4 separate regions of the Homo sapiens genome follow, and regions 2, 3 and 4 are each linked to region 1. The links are contacts of gene promoters, found by promoter capture Hi-C in blood cells and fetal thymus (Javierre and others, 2016). All regions are on one chromosome and are shown on one strand. The core of a region is centred on a gene start or on the middle of the fragment in contact, and the rest is flanking DNA. Distances in the headings are between cores, read along the strand shown.

Region 1 (3,304 bases), core at 805-3,304:
CGCCACAGCACTCCAGCCTGGCGACAGAGACTCCATCTCAAAAAAAAAAAAAAAAAAATTAGCCACCTCGAATCAATTACAATAATTTATTTACCTTTTTCTTTTTTTAAAGACAAGATATCTCTTTGTTACCTAGGCTGGAGTGCAGTGGAACTTGGCTCACTAGAGCCTTTACCTCCTGGGCTCAAGCAATCCTCCCATCTCAGCCTGTCCGGTAGCTAGGACCACAGGTATGCACCACCATGCCCTGGTTAATTTTTGTAGAGACGGGGTTTGGCTATGTTGCTTAGGCTAAGCTCAAACTCCTGAGCTCAAGCGATCTCCCCACCTCCACCTCCCAAAGTGCTGGGATTTACAGGCATGAGCCACCCACCTGGCCTATTTGCTTTAACTTATAAAGATTTAAAAACTGTTCATGGCCACGTGTGGTGGCTCGCGCGTGTAATCCCAGCAATTTGGGAGGAGAAGGCGGGAGGATCGCTTAAGCGCAGGAGTTCGAGACCAGCCTGGCCAACATAATGAGACTCTGTCTCAAACAAAAACAAAAACAAGAACAAAAACAAAACTGTTCATGTTAAAATTAAGCAGTCTGAAAATTACCTCTACTGACCCCTTGCGCCCTTCCCTAGAGATAACCACTGTAAACCAGTTTCCTTTCCCAAAGAAACCCTATTTATGTTTGCATGTAAATGTACATATATGTACATACTCTTTGTTATATAAATACAACACATATTCCCTTTTACATAAATGACAATACTATATACATTGTTCTTTACCTTCCCCTTCTGATACCTATTAAAATTACATTTCAAGATCATCAAATTCATAATTTTCAGCTATTCAGATTTAACATCCCTGAAATTAAACTTAAGCATAAAGATAACAGGGATAATCCAGTTCCCATACCCAGGAGAATAACGGTCACCTCAAGTCCACTATAATACACCAAGTCTGAACCCTGGACTCAACATGTTTTCAATAAAATGTTCACTTTAAAGTTTTGACAATGACTTAATAACCAGGGCACTATGTTTGATCCATGCAAAAAGATGTAAAATCTTCCGCTTAAGGAATCTAAAATTCTAAACGTTATTTGTGGGGTGGTTAATCTGCACCTCTCAGAAACAGACATGTCTTGTGCGCTGCCAACAATTTTACCTTTGGGTGAATGATGTAACTTTACTGTTCCCACAAAGAGTCTTAATTTTTCTGTACCTTGCAATAAAATCTACATGCATTAGATTTTTCCACGAATGGCCTACAATTTGATAAACACTTTCAGGACTAAACGGCTAGCAAAAATATTCGTTAAAGTCGTTATGCAGCATTTTAATTCCCTTCACTGATAACATGCACCCTGAGTATGGCTTCAAAGACCCACTCCTACGCGAGAAACGACCCGAAATGCTCTATATGCCTTCCTTTTAAGGGGCGGGGGGATCCTTTGATGTAACTCAACAAAAGCATACAGCAATTTCGTCACGTCACAAACATCTGAACTCGTTTACCGAAATCTAATCTGAGGCGTTTATCAGAAGCAAAGAAAAAATAAAATACGGCCCACGGAGGCCTAAGGAGTGAGGCATCCACCATTAATGACTCTACCGGGAAGCAGATATGGCCTTACGTTATTTCGCTAAAAATCCCAAGGCCAACCCTGCCAAAGAATCAACAACCCATTTTACAAACGAAATACCAGATTCAGAAAGACTAAGCAGGTTGCCAAGCTGGAGAGCTGGATCTGCCGACCTCTCTCCACCCCCCCCCGCCCCCCCCCGGAGCCTCAGGCCAACGGAATTAACGTTCCGCGTCCCCTCCCTCGCCTCCCGCAACGCCCGCGAGGGTCGGCTCCCGGGGCGCTGACAACCGCCTCGTGGCCCTCGGCCGGCCTCTGAAGAGGGCAGTGAGGGGCCCCCACCTGGGCGCCCGATGCCCAGAGCACTCTGCGCCCCCAGCCTGCCCCAGCCCAGTCCCTCCCGGCCGCGCGCCCTGACCGGTGAGCAGGATGTTCGGAAGCAACATGGTCCCCGCCGCGACGGCTTCGGGCGCCTCGCTCACGTGCCCTTTGCTCTACAGGGAGGAGCCGGAAGGGGCGGGCGGCAGCAAAAGCCCACGGCCCCAAAGGCCCCGAAGCCCACCGCGGCGCCCCTAGCCTGCCCCGGCGGCCCAGCCGCGGCCCACTGGTTACCTGGCTTTCGATGACACATTTCCGTCGCAAAGTTGGAGGGTGGGCATAACTCGGGTCGGTACTTCGGGTCAGGCAGTGCGCTGGATGCCTAAGTCACACACTCCTTCGGTGGTCCCCGCCCTTCGCTTGCGCCGACCAGTCTGGAAGGTCCCCGGGAGGCCGTACCTCCGAGAGGCTCGGCGTTGAGCCCGGGTAGGGCCAGGTGGCTGCCCTTTCACCTAGGGTAGTCCCTGGTCGCCTCCGCTCTTCGCCTAAAAGGGGATGCAGCTCCGGGAAAGTAAGGCCGCCGCGGTTGCGGCTATATTATGTATATGTCTTAGAGACGTGAGTCTATCTCTGCCTTCAAGCTTTCCTGGGCTCTCGTCGCTCCTCCTCCCGACCCGCCCATCCCATCTGGGGATGAGAAGATTGAGGGTGCAGAGCCCTGTCCTGCAGCGGGGATTTGCGAGCTCAACCCGGCACCCCACTGATTACAGGATTACGTTGGACGAATATTTGAGCTTAGTATTCCCTGTTCACTGTGTGGGGTGGTGGTGGGTCGGCTAGGAATAGTCTTGAAGGTCTACCTCTGACATCTCATTTCAGTAACCTCGCATCTTCAGGGACAGTTATCTGCTTTTTAAAGGAGGTAATTGTCAATCTTGTTTTCAAGAGTGAATAGAGACCTGACCGTGACAACAGTCTGCACCTTTTTTTGTTTGTTTGTTTGTTTTTGTTTTGTTTTGAGACGGAGTCTCACTCTTGTCGCCCAGGCTGGAGTGCAACCTCCGCCTCCTGGGTTCAAGTGATTCTCCTGCCTTAGCCTCCAGAGTAGCTGGGATTACAGGCGCCCACCACCACGCCCGGCTAATTTTTGCATTTTTAATAGAGACGGGGTTTCACCATGTTTTGGCCAGGCTGGTCTCAAACTCCTGACCTCAGATGATCCGCCCGCCTCGTCCTCCCACGGTGCTGGGATTACAGGCATGAGCCACCGCGTCCGGCCCCTGGTCTGCATCTTTTATTTCGAGCTACAAACTATATTTACTCAAATAGGTGTTTTTTTTCCACCTGTATACCTTTTGAAACGTCACAGTCTCTAATCGTGAACGATTTGGGGCGGAGGGCTGAACA
Region 2 (3,304 bases), core at 217-2,716, 1.1 Mb before region 1:
AATTTCAAAGCATTTTACACATTGTTAATTAAATCTCACCATGTTCTTTCAGGTAGCAAAAAGTAAGTTTATTTTTGATTCAGAAGTATTTGAAGAAGTTAGAACAAGATGATTTTATTGCTAAATAATAAGGAATATCTGTGGAGTACCAAGGAATGAGATATAATGAATTTGGTTAGAGTATATCAAAGTACATATTATAGTTTTTGTCTTACACTTCCCTGTGGGTCTGTTTAACTATTGAAAATGTCTTCTTCAAAATGAACCTTAAACATTTGCAAACTTACTCTTTGCTAATTATTCTGCCAGGCATTTTTTTTTTTCTTTTTTTTTTGAATCTTGCTCTGTTGCCCAGGCTGGAGTGCAGTGGCTCAATCTCAGCTGACTGCAACCTCTGCCTCCTGGGTTCAAGCAGTTCTCCAGCCACAGCCTCCCAAGTAGCTGGGACTACAGGCACATGCTGCCACGCCTGGCTAATTTTTGTATTTTTAGTAGAGACAGGGTTTCACCATATTGGTCAGGCTGGTCTCGAACTCCTAACCTCAGGTGATCCACCCACCTCGGCCTCCTAAACTGGTGGGATTACCAGCGCGAGCCACCACGCTGGCCCTGCCAGGCATTTTATAGACATTTTTCATTTGACGCTCACAACCACCCTGCAAAGATGGCATATTATAACCTTTTTTTGTTTGTTTGTTTGTTTTTTTGAGATGGAGTCTCGCTCTGTCGCCCGGGCTGGAGAGCAGTGGCACGATCTCGGCTCACTGCAAGCTCCGCCTCCTGGGTTCACGCCATTCTCCTGTCTCAGCCTCCCGAGTAGCTGGGACTACAGGCACCTGCCACCACGCCCGTCTAATTTTTTGTATTTTTTGTAGAGACGGGGTTTCACTGTGTTAGCCAGGATGGTCTCGATCTCTTGACCTTGTGATCCGCCCACCTCGGCCTCCCAAAGTGCTGGGATTGCAGGCATGAGCCACCACGCCTGGCCCTATAACCGTTTTTGAGATTTAAAAACTGAAGGTCATGTGATTGTGTAAATATTTAAAAAGTGATCATATTAAAAAATATCATAGTGATGGCACATTGATAAGATTCAAGAACATTTTGGGCAAGGCAGGCAGTCATGAGGATCTCCTTAAGCAGTCTCTTGTGAAGTGATCGGTAACTGAATTTTGCTTTTTGGGTGGTCTTCAATTATGTCTGCTTTATCTGTTAGGTTTCACTAGCTATTACATTCATGCAACTCCAGAAATTTACCTCCAATTTATATGTGACTTACAACATTTTCTTATGTCTGGTAAATATTTGAAAGGATTGAATTACAAAGAGACGGATAAGGCCATGAAGCTAAGACAAAGTTTTGGGTATGTGCATGTAAATGCAATTTTTCTCAGGAAGAAATACACCATGATCAGATAACTCAAAAGTTTTATAACCTTGATAAATAGATTTACCTTCGTTTCTGTTGTTTTTGAAGAAGTTAAATGTCTGCTTTAAATGTTTCCCTGAGTTTCAAGTTTTCTTATTTCAGACTCATAATTATATCATTTTGATTAAAATGGAGCACAGACTGGAGTTATTACTTGCTTAAAAGCCAAAAACTTGAGGGTATCCAGCATAAGAATTGTGTGTTTTGGTCTGTGGATAGCAGCTGCTTGAAGTCCATAAAAACAAGAAACCTGAAGTTGATTCAGATGAATCTGAAGTCTTGTACCTGAATTATGTCAAGGTTAGCAGTAAATGCCATTTAAAAAGACTGAGTACAAATTGCCAAATTCCTTTGAATGCCAAACCATATTTCTCAGGAAAGTTGGCCACTGCCAAATTTATAACATTTGTGTTTCTGTTACCTGAATTCCAAGGGCAGAGGGGTGATTGAGGGGGTAAGGGAAAGGCACAGGTGAATTTTATTTTCAGATGTCTAATAGGACAGTGTGACATTGCCCAGAGATAGTCTCTCAAAGGTAGTGAGTGCCAGCAGAACTTCTCGAATGCGAAGTTGAGAAATTTTACTTATTTACTTATTTTCCCATTGAAAAAAAAAAAAAAAACTTTAAATGTTTTCTGAGTTAAAAAGGCCTCTGACTGGTAGTCCTGACACAGCTTCTTGAGAGTCTCCGAGAGAGCCTCTTCTCAGTACAATTCCTAAGAAGATAGGAAGAAAAAAAAAAATATTCTTAACACATAAAACTAGAATTAGTGGGAAGAAATGCCTACTGTAAACTCAACAGAACCGGGGTTAAAAAATATAGGATAAGTTTTGACTACCTAAAAGTAGCAGGGCAGACCCATCTCTTCCCTAACTCTGTCCATAATTCAGAAAGGGCCCAGGGAACTGTCCTCAGGAATGCTCTTCCCCCCTCTTCCTTGTCCTCTCCGACAGAGCCTTTCTAATCAGTAGGAGGTCACAACTTAGAAAATAACCAGAGAGAGCTGGAATGGTAAGTTAGGGGCTATTACTGTTATATTCTGAGAATCCTGATCCATGAAAATAAAGTGCTGAAGGTGGGGTAGAGTTAGAAAGACCTGTGTTCACTGAGGGTTTTGAGTATTACAGGCTCTCCATCACTCAGAGCATCAGAAAGTCAGGCGGTGAACGCAGGAGATTTTTCTCTCAGGCTAACCAAAACCATGTTGAAATGAAAACCACCTTGGAACTGGCCTTTTCATCTCAGACTGCCAAATAACTAGCACCCAAGTGGATCCCTTAGCTCAGAGCAGTCACCAGGCATGGGTAGGTCTTTCCTTGTTTAGTGATAAACAGGAAAAACCTAACCGAGCCTACTGAACCATGTCCATCTATAAAAGAAAAAGGGAGATCATACTGGAGATTTGAAAGAAGAGTAGACCTCCAGAACTGATTGATTATAATTTATTTCTGTTATAGTATTTCCACTTAGTATTATGATTTATTTCTGTCCCTCATGAAAGGGACAGAAAGTAGTCAGGCGGTTATGAGATGAAAAGACAGTAAGATGGGATGAAATCGGAGTGAAACAATAAAAAAAAGACTAAGTTAAAAATGTAATAGCATATTAAAATTCATGTGTAAGGGGGTAATGAGCTGAAAATAAAGTCTGTGTTTTGAAGGAGAAACAAGATAAAGCTCTTTGGAATCCAAAGGATAAAAACATAAAATGAGGGAGAAGATATATAGAGAGAATATCTAACAGGAGAATTACAAGTGTTGATAAACAGGGAACCAAGTGAAATAGAACAACATCATTATAAGAAGTTTTCATGCACGTGTGCAGATTTGAAAGTGTTGCCGTATTTTTCATGTGAAATCAATGAAAAATATGTT
Region 3 (3,304 bases), core at 445-2,944, 1.1 Mb before region 1:
ACACCTGTAATCCCAGCATTTTGAGAGATTGAGGTGGGTGGATTGCTTGAGTCCATGAGTTCGAGACCAGCCTGGGCAATATGGCAAAACCCCGTCTCTACTAAAAATATACAAAAAATTAGCTGGGAGTGATGCTGTGCACTGTAGTCGCAGCTACTCAGGAGGCTGGGGGGGGAGGATCACATGAACTCAGGAAGTTGAGGCTGCAGCGAGCCATGATCACGCCACTACACTCCAGCCTGGGTGACAGAGCGAGACCCTGTCTCAAAAAAAAAAAAAAAAAAGAAAAAGGAAATTTGTTTACCATAGTATATGGCTTCTAATAAAGAGCTATACTGGTAAAATCTCACAGAAACAAAATTGCAAATATTTAGTCTTTCTCAGATTATATAAATTATTCCTAGAAAAGACTGCAAGCAATGAGGCTAATAAACAGGTTGTACTTATATTTTCATAATGACTTTAATTTACCTTTATTTTGCAGTTTCACAAATTTAAGATGAATATATTTAGCTCCCTCTTCTGGCATAATTTGAGAATTTTTTTGCTTACAATGGTCTTATTTATTTTTTTTGGACTGAGAATAAGGTTATCAATGTAATGTTGAAGAATGTTATTTATGAGTGTCATCCAGTTAGATTTTTTGGTATCATTGTAAATGGTTAAAACGCATGCAAAAAGTTTACGAAAACACCACATTTTAAAAACTACTAATTGACCAAAAAATACATAAACAAAGGCTTTGACAAAGTTATACAGAAATTTATTTTGATATCAAGTGGGCAGTGATCATTCATATTGGCTTCTGGATCTGAGACTCAGCCCATACCTGGCATTTGTGAGGCTTGGGGCAAGAATGCAAAAAGAGGCCCAAGTACCCTGTGCCTAAGTATTTTTGTTATAAATCATGTCAACTGTTCAATAAAATCTGTCCCATCCTTTCTAGGCAGTTATTTCTTCCTAATGACCAGGAGGAGAGATCTGAATTCAGGTTCTTGGGCTCCTGAGAGTTCTGCCCTAGAGTGTGGTATTATGGGGAGAGCTGGATCCTGGTTCATCCCTGGCTTCTCCCTGCACATCCAAACTCCCATCCATCCTGCCACTCCCCCCACCTTTGGGGCCCAGGGGTGTACCTAGACAGGGGGGTTTGTCCTGGGGAGGGTGGACCTGGGGGAAAGGCCATAAGAGGCCATTTAGCAGGAAATCCTGGAGCATTACTCTGAGTAGACCCTAGGTGAGAAGCAGTGGGCATATCACTTTGGCCTGGAAAGTGCAAAAGCCCAGAGCAGGGGTTCTTCTTGCTCGGGCCTGATGTAATTAAATTATTTTGTACGTCCTTCATTGTGGTCTAATGCATTCAACTATCCAAATTAAATACAATGGTGGGATTTTGTTGTTTGCAGCTTTGACTCTCCCGGATCTTGCAGAGCAGTTTGCCCCTCCTGACATTGCCCCGCCTCTTCTTATCAAGCTCGTGGAAGCCATTGAAAAGAAAGGTAACCAGACTGCTAGAGGGCATCAGTTCCTTTGTTCTACCCTTATTTCATGGCTCTTATTATTTGTCTCTTGTGCATTCATTAAGTAAATTTCCTACTACCAGCTATGTCCAGATACTCTGCTGGACACTCAAACTGTTTGGGGCTAAGTACTGGGAAAAATGTCTCAGTCTATAATTTCTAACTCTAGATTATCATGTAGTTTCCATATGGAAACTATTAAATTCTTCATAATTTAATAAATATGATTAACTTTCTTCTTAGAGGCCAGATGGTTTTGCCAAAATTATCAACATGCCAGGTAAGATTAATAGTAGGAGTTGACTTCCAAGAATATTTGGTACACATCTAGAACAGATACTGGATGGAAACTGGAATGTCTCTGGCAGCAGCCTCACAGGTTCTCCAGAGAGCTGTGTTTTGCATACATGGTCTGTGGTCTGTTTTGTGTCCTAGGTCTGGAATGTTCAACTCTATACAGAACACAGAGCTCCAGCAACCTGGCAGAATTACGACAGCTTCTTGATTGTGGTGAGTGTCACAGAGCTAGAAATGCAAATGGGAAAGACAGGTCTTGGCTTTCTGTTTCAGGTAATGCACACACACAAAATTGAATTTAATCTATGCAGTGTTCTAAATTTAAAGGGAACTCAAATCATGTACAGTTCTCCCTGCCCTGTTATGGTAACAGTGCAAACCTTTGAAATTTTTCTCCTGAGTTGGGCTGCAAGTGTGTGCACGCCTCCCTGCAGGCATGTTGGTCATCATCATAGCCATCAGGCCCTGGGTCCTGCAGAGGAGAGAAACCACCTCTTGGTGTTTCTCTCGCTCTGTGTATCTACCATCTTTCCTTGACCCTGAATTTGGCTACATCTAATTCATCTGAATCAATTAAAAAATATTTTTAAGCCTATGTCACTTAAGAAATGTCTCTTCTGACATCCTTTTTCTTTTATTACCTTTCCCTTCCATTTTCCTTTTCCGTTTCCCTTTCTTTCTGGCTTGCCTTCTTTCTTTTTTTGTGTTGAGTGCATTAAGTAACATCACGATATTGTTATGTTCAGTGGTGTGCTGATAAACCAACTCTCTAGGAAGAAAAAGGCCCTGGTTTGTAGCATCTGCCCATTTTTGTGGCATGAATATTCCCACCGGGGCTTATTTCAAGCTAACCAACATGATGTCACTGGATGTGGAATTGGGAAGAATTGAGGACAGTTTGTTAAATAACACTAATTAATTTAGCCAAGAGGGCTTTAGTACCCCAAACACCCACTCCCTCCTTTGGCATAGATGAAAAACTACAAATCAATTTACTTGCCAGCATTCCAGCAAGTCATCTTCTTATAAATCTTTCAAGATCCTTCATTCCCTCATAACGCTTAAAAAAATTATATACTGCCTCACATCATTTTAACTGAAATTAGGTGTTTAAGCCAAAAAGAGTGAAACTCAGTTTTGGACTCCGTCAGAGGTATAATTGTACAAAGAATGCCCACATGACAGTAAATGAGAATTTGAAGCATGAGGCAGTTTCAAAATGAGGCAACTTCTGAGACTTTTAGAAAAGAGGTTTTTTTGGAGAAAAGGAGGAGACTAGACCTTTATCAGTATCAGTAAATTCTTACACTTGAAATGTTCTGACCAGATGTTTCAAAAGTTAAAAAAATGTTTAACTCCATTTTTCCTTTGTACATGGAAATCAGTTGCATGCGAACAGAGCATATCCTCTTTGCTGCTCTGCCTCCTGCACTTCCCACAGAGCAGGTCATTAGAAGTTAACATGCAGAACACTCAAGGTGAAAAGGCTT
Region 4 (3,304 bases), core at 292-2,791, 1.1 Mb before region 1:
TTTTATATTGTTTTTACAGGAAAGGGGGAAATAACAAATTAATCAAAATATTTCATCGAGATGGGAAATATGGCTTCTCTGACCCATTAACCTTCAGTTCTGTGGTTGAATTAATAAACCACTACCGGAATGAATCTCTAGCTCAGTATAATCCCAAATTGGATGTGAAATTACTTTATCCAGTATCCAAATACCAACAGGTAATAAAAACTGAATGAATTATCCAGTTACGATGTTTAGACAAGATCCTTTTAATACTTAGAAAACATTTGAAGCAGATGAATTACATGTAATCAAGTCTAAAAAACTTGACACTCGTAATTACATAATTGCAATTTTAAAGATGTTTCCATGTCAGCTATTTTGTTAAACAATTGTTATTTGATTAAATACCTTATCCATTGAATTTATTTTAATCTTTCTAGGATCAAGTTGTCAAAGAAGATAATATTGAAGCTGTAGGGAAAAAATTACATGAATATAACACTCAGTTTCAAGAAAAAAGTCGAGAATATGATAGATTATATGAAGAATATACCCGCACATCCCAGGTGAGTTTTCTATGAAAATCAGATTAAAAAATAAGAGTTCTAAACTTTTAAAGACTAACATGGAAAAAAGAATTTAAAAGGTTGAGTTTTTACGAATGAGGTGGGGGTGAGAGCATTTATTTGTGAATCATTGTTGATTATTCTAGTGTAATATCTCTAAAGCTTTAAACCAAAAATTTTAAGTATCAGAATAATAAATTAAGTTCACGTGATAACTGAAGCAGTCACTGAGTTTCAAGTTGATTTAATTCGTGATAGAAGGATCCTGTTTAGATTGGAAGTTAGTAATAACTGGAAGTTTCACAGACTTGTCTAATCCCTGAAATGGAGATTTAGGCATTAATATATATCCTACCATGAAAAGGAAGGGCTATATACTGCTGTGCTTTTCTAGACCCTTATTCTTCACTGGTCACTCATGTATCTGGGAATGCCAGAGGGAACAGAAAACAACAGGGATGCTATAAACTACAATAGCTTTTAAGAAGATAAAAACTATAGGAAATTGCTACGCAATCATTTTTCATAGATTGAGAAAATTCTCCAGAGGAAATACTTGTTTCTGGGATACTGTTTTAATGGATTTTATGAATTTGAGTCCCACTCTGCTAATAATACAGATCAAATGTCCTGGTAGTGTCTTGCAGTAAGAGATTGTTCTATGAAAGGTATGACATTATCTTTTTAAAATTATGTTGCAGGAAATCCAAATGAAAAGGACAGCTATTGAAGCATTTAATGAAACCATAAAAATATTTGAAGAACAGTGCCAGACCCAAGAGCGGTACAGCAAAGAATACATAGAAAAGTTTAAACGTGAAGGCAATGAGAAAGAAATACAAAGGTTGGTGTTTCCCTTGTTCTTGTGCTAGAGATAACCAAAATCCTCTAAAACCATTTAAAGATGATCTCGCTTTCTGTGCTTTGAATGATCACGTGGACACAGGAAGGGGAATATCACTCTGGGGACTGTGGTGGGGTGGGGGGAGGAGGGAGGGATAGCATTGGGAGATATACCTAATGCTAGATGACGAGTTAGTGGGTGCGGCGCACCAGCATGGCACATGTATACATATGTAACTAACCTGCACAATGTGCACATGTACCCTAAAACTTAAAGTATAATAAAAATAAAAAAATAAAATAAAATAAAATATGTTGAGCCACTCCAAAAAAAAAAAAAAATGACAGGAAGAGAAGCCACGCTTTACCTAAGGAAAACTGCTGGGAAACCATAGTGAAACTTTTCATAAACTTTGGGGACCGTTCCTGATGTACCCAGATAATAACAAATACGTTTCTTTTGCCTGCAGGATTATGCATAATTATGATAAGTTGAAGTCTCGAATCAGTGAAATTATTGACAGTAGAAGAAGATTGGAAGAAGACTTGAAGAAGCAGGCAGCTGAGTATCGAGAAATTGACAAACGTATGAACAGCATTAAACCAGACCTTATCCAGCTGAGAAAGACGAGAGACCAATACTTGATGTAAGTATTTGAAATGGAATCCTATACATGAATAATTGGTGATTGCTACAATTCAGGATGAGTTAATGCGTTCTCTTTTCAAAACTGTTTTTCAGGTGGTTGACTCAAAAAGGTGTTCGGCAAAAGAAGTTGAACGAGTGGTTGGGCAATGAAAACACTGAAGAGTAAGTAGTTACTAAAGATGGTGATAGCAGAAGATTTTTCTCATTTTAGGAAAATGCATGACTTGCTTTGTTTTTAGAACAAGTGAGGAATTTTACTGAGTTTGGAACATCTTGTAGGAGAAAATGTATAAACTCAGTGCCATTATCCAGAATTTTAAAAAAAGAAAGCTTAGCTAAGGAGGACTAGGATTTATTTTTACTCATAATGCTGTGAAACAACTCTCTGTGTCCATAATGATGTCCCTGAACATCTGAAAAATCCCAAAATATTTTTGGAACAGTCAGAGAAAAAATAATTATGCTTAATATATTTTAAAGCTTAAGTATATACTTTGTTTGAATTAGTCAAAAACTGGCAATCTGCCTAGTCAATTTCCTGATCTAAACTGGATAAACGAGATTGTTTTAATACCTTCCACTCTGCCCAGGTACCTGAGTGTGGTTGCTTGAAAACAGAAATAGTACAGTTGATTGGTAACTCTTTGTCCTGGGAGGTTGCACTGGAGGCTGAATACCAGGAGAGGAAAACTCAGGTCGGGCAGAGGCAGGCATGTGATGGCCAGTCTGACTGGCTTGGTAGGGGCCAGGAGGGAAGTGACGGGGGTATGCCTAGGGAAGACAGCAAGGCAGGCTGATGGCTCCTGCACTCTTCATTTAGAAACTTTCTGTCCTGCCTGCCTAGCCAATATTCACTGGTGGAAGATGATGAAGATTTGCCCCATCATGATGAGAAGACATGGAATGTTGGAAGCAGCAACCGAAACAAAGCTGAAAACCTGTTGCGAGGGAAGCGAGATGGCACTTTTCTTGTCCGGGAGAGCAGTAAACAGGGCTGCTATGCCTGCTCTGTAGTGTATGTATCTCCAGCAAACTTTTCTTTACAACATCTCATGAAGAGATGTTTCATTTATTCATTCATTGAGTTTTGGGGGCAAAGATTTGACATAGTTTTAGTCTTGAATAAGCTTACAGTACAATAATGTAGAAGAGAAACCAAAGCAGCTGTAATACCATTTTAAAGTCTAGCCAGAAGTGTATGTTAATACAGTCTAATAGATACCTACTGTTTAGTTGGAAGACTAGGTTTGGATTCCCATTC

The links. Contacts are between HindIII fragments. The CHiCAGO score rates a contact against its expected background, and 5 or more counts as called.
Region 2: a contact is called between a fragment that was not itself captured here and the fragment with the promoter of TAF9 in region 1, in 1 of 17 cell types (total B cells). The highest score is 7.1, in total B cells.
Region 3: a contact is called between a fragment that was not itself captured here and the fragment with the promoter of TAF9 in region 1, in 1 of 17 cell types (total CD4 T cells). The highest score is 8.6, in total CD4 T cells.
Region 4: a contact is called between a fragment that was not itself captured here and the fragment with the promoter of TAF9 in region 1, in 1 of 17 cell types (total CD4 T cells). The highest score is 5.1, in total CD4 T cells.

Annotation. Positions count from the first base shown.
Region 1 is chr5:69,367,466-69,370,769 of GRCh38, forward strand. It overlaps TAF9 (TATA-box binding protein associated factor 9), which reads right to left and starts at 2,055. Exons shown (of 3, transcript NM_003187.5): 1 at 1,998-2,055. It overlaps AK6 (adenylate kinase 6), which reads right to left and starts at 2,055. Exons shown (of 5, transcript NM_016283.5): 1 at 1,998-2,055. The coding sequence starts at 2,025. It overlaps RAD17 (RAD17 checkpoint clamp loader component), which reads left to right and starts at 2,353. Exons shown (of 19, transcript NM_133338.3): 1 at 2,353-2,468. RefSeq lists an enhancer at 2,607-3,156. The HindIII fragment of the contact is 4,867 bases long and covers 1-2,536 here.
Region 2 is chr5:68,235,561-68,238,864 of GRCh38, forward strand. All of the region lies in intron 2 of PIK3R1 (phosphoinositide-3-kinase regulatory subunit 1), which reads left to right. Among named protein-coding and RNA genes, the nearest start is that of PIK3R1, 21 kb to the left of the region's middle. The HindIII fragment of the contact is 4,300 bases long and covers 1-3,304 here.
Region 3 is chr5:68,271,987-68,275,290 of GRCh38, forward strand. It overlaps PIK3R1 (phosphoinositide-3-kinase regulatory subunit 1), which reads left to right. Exons shown (of 16, transcript NM_181523.3): 3 at 1,404-1,496; 4 at 1,953-2,027. Among named protein-coding and RNA genes, the nearest start is that of PIK3R1, 58 kb to the left of the region's middle. RefSeq lists an enhancer at 3,176-3,225. The HindIII fragment of the contact is 5,183 bases long and covers 1-3,304 here.
Region 4 is chr5:68,293,284-68,296,587 of GRCh38, forward strand. PIK3R1 (phosphoinositide-3-kinase regulatory subunit 1) reads left to right here. Exons shown (of 16, transcript NM_181523.3): 10 at 20-200; 11 at 426-551; 12 at 1,253-1,395; 13 at 1,865-2,041; 14 at 2,137-2,205; 15 at 2,888-3,058. Among named protein-coding and RNA genes, the nearest start is that of PIK3R1, 79 kb to the left of the region's middle. The HindIII fragment of the contact is 1,660 bases long and covers 712-2,371 here.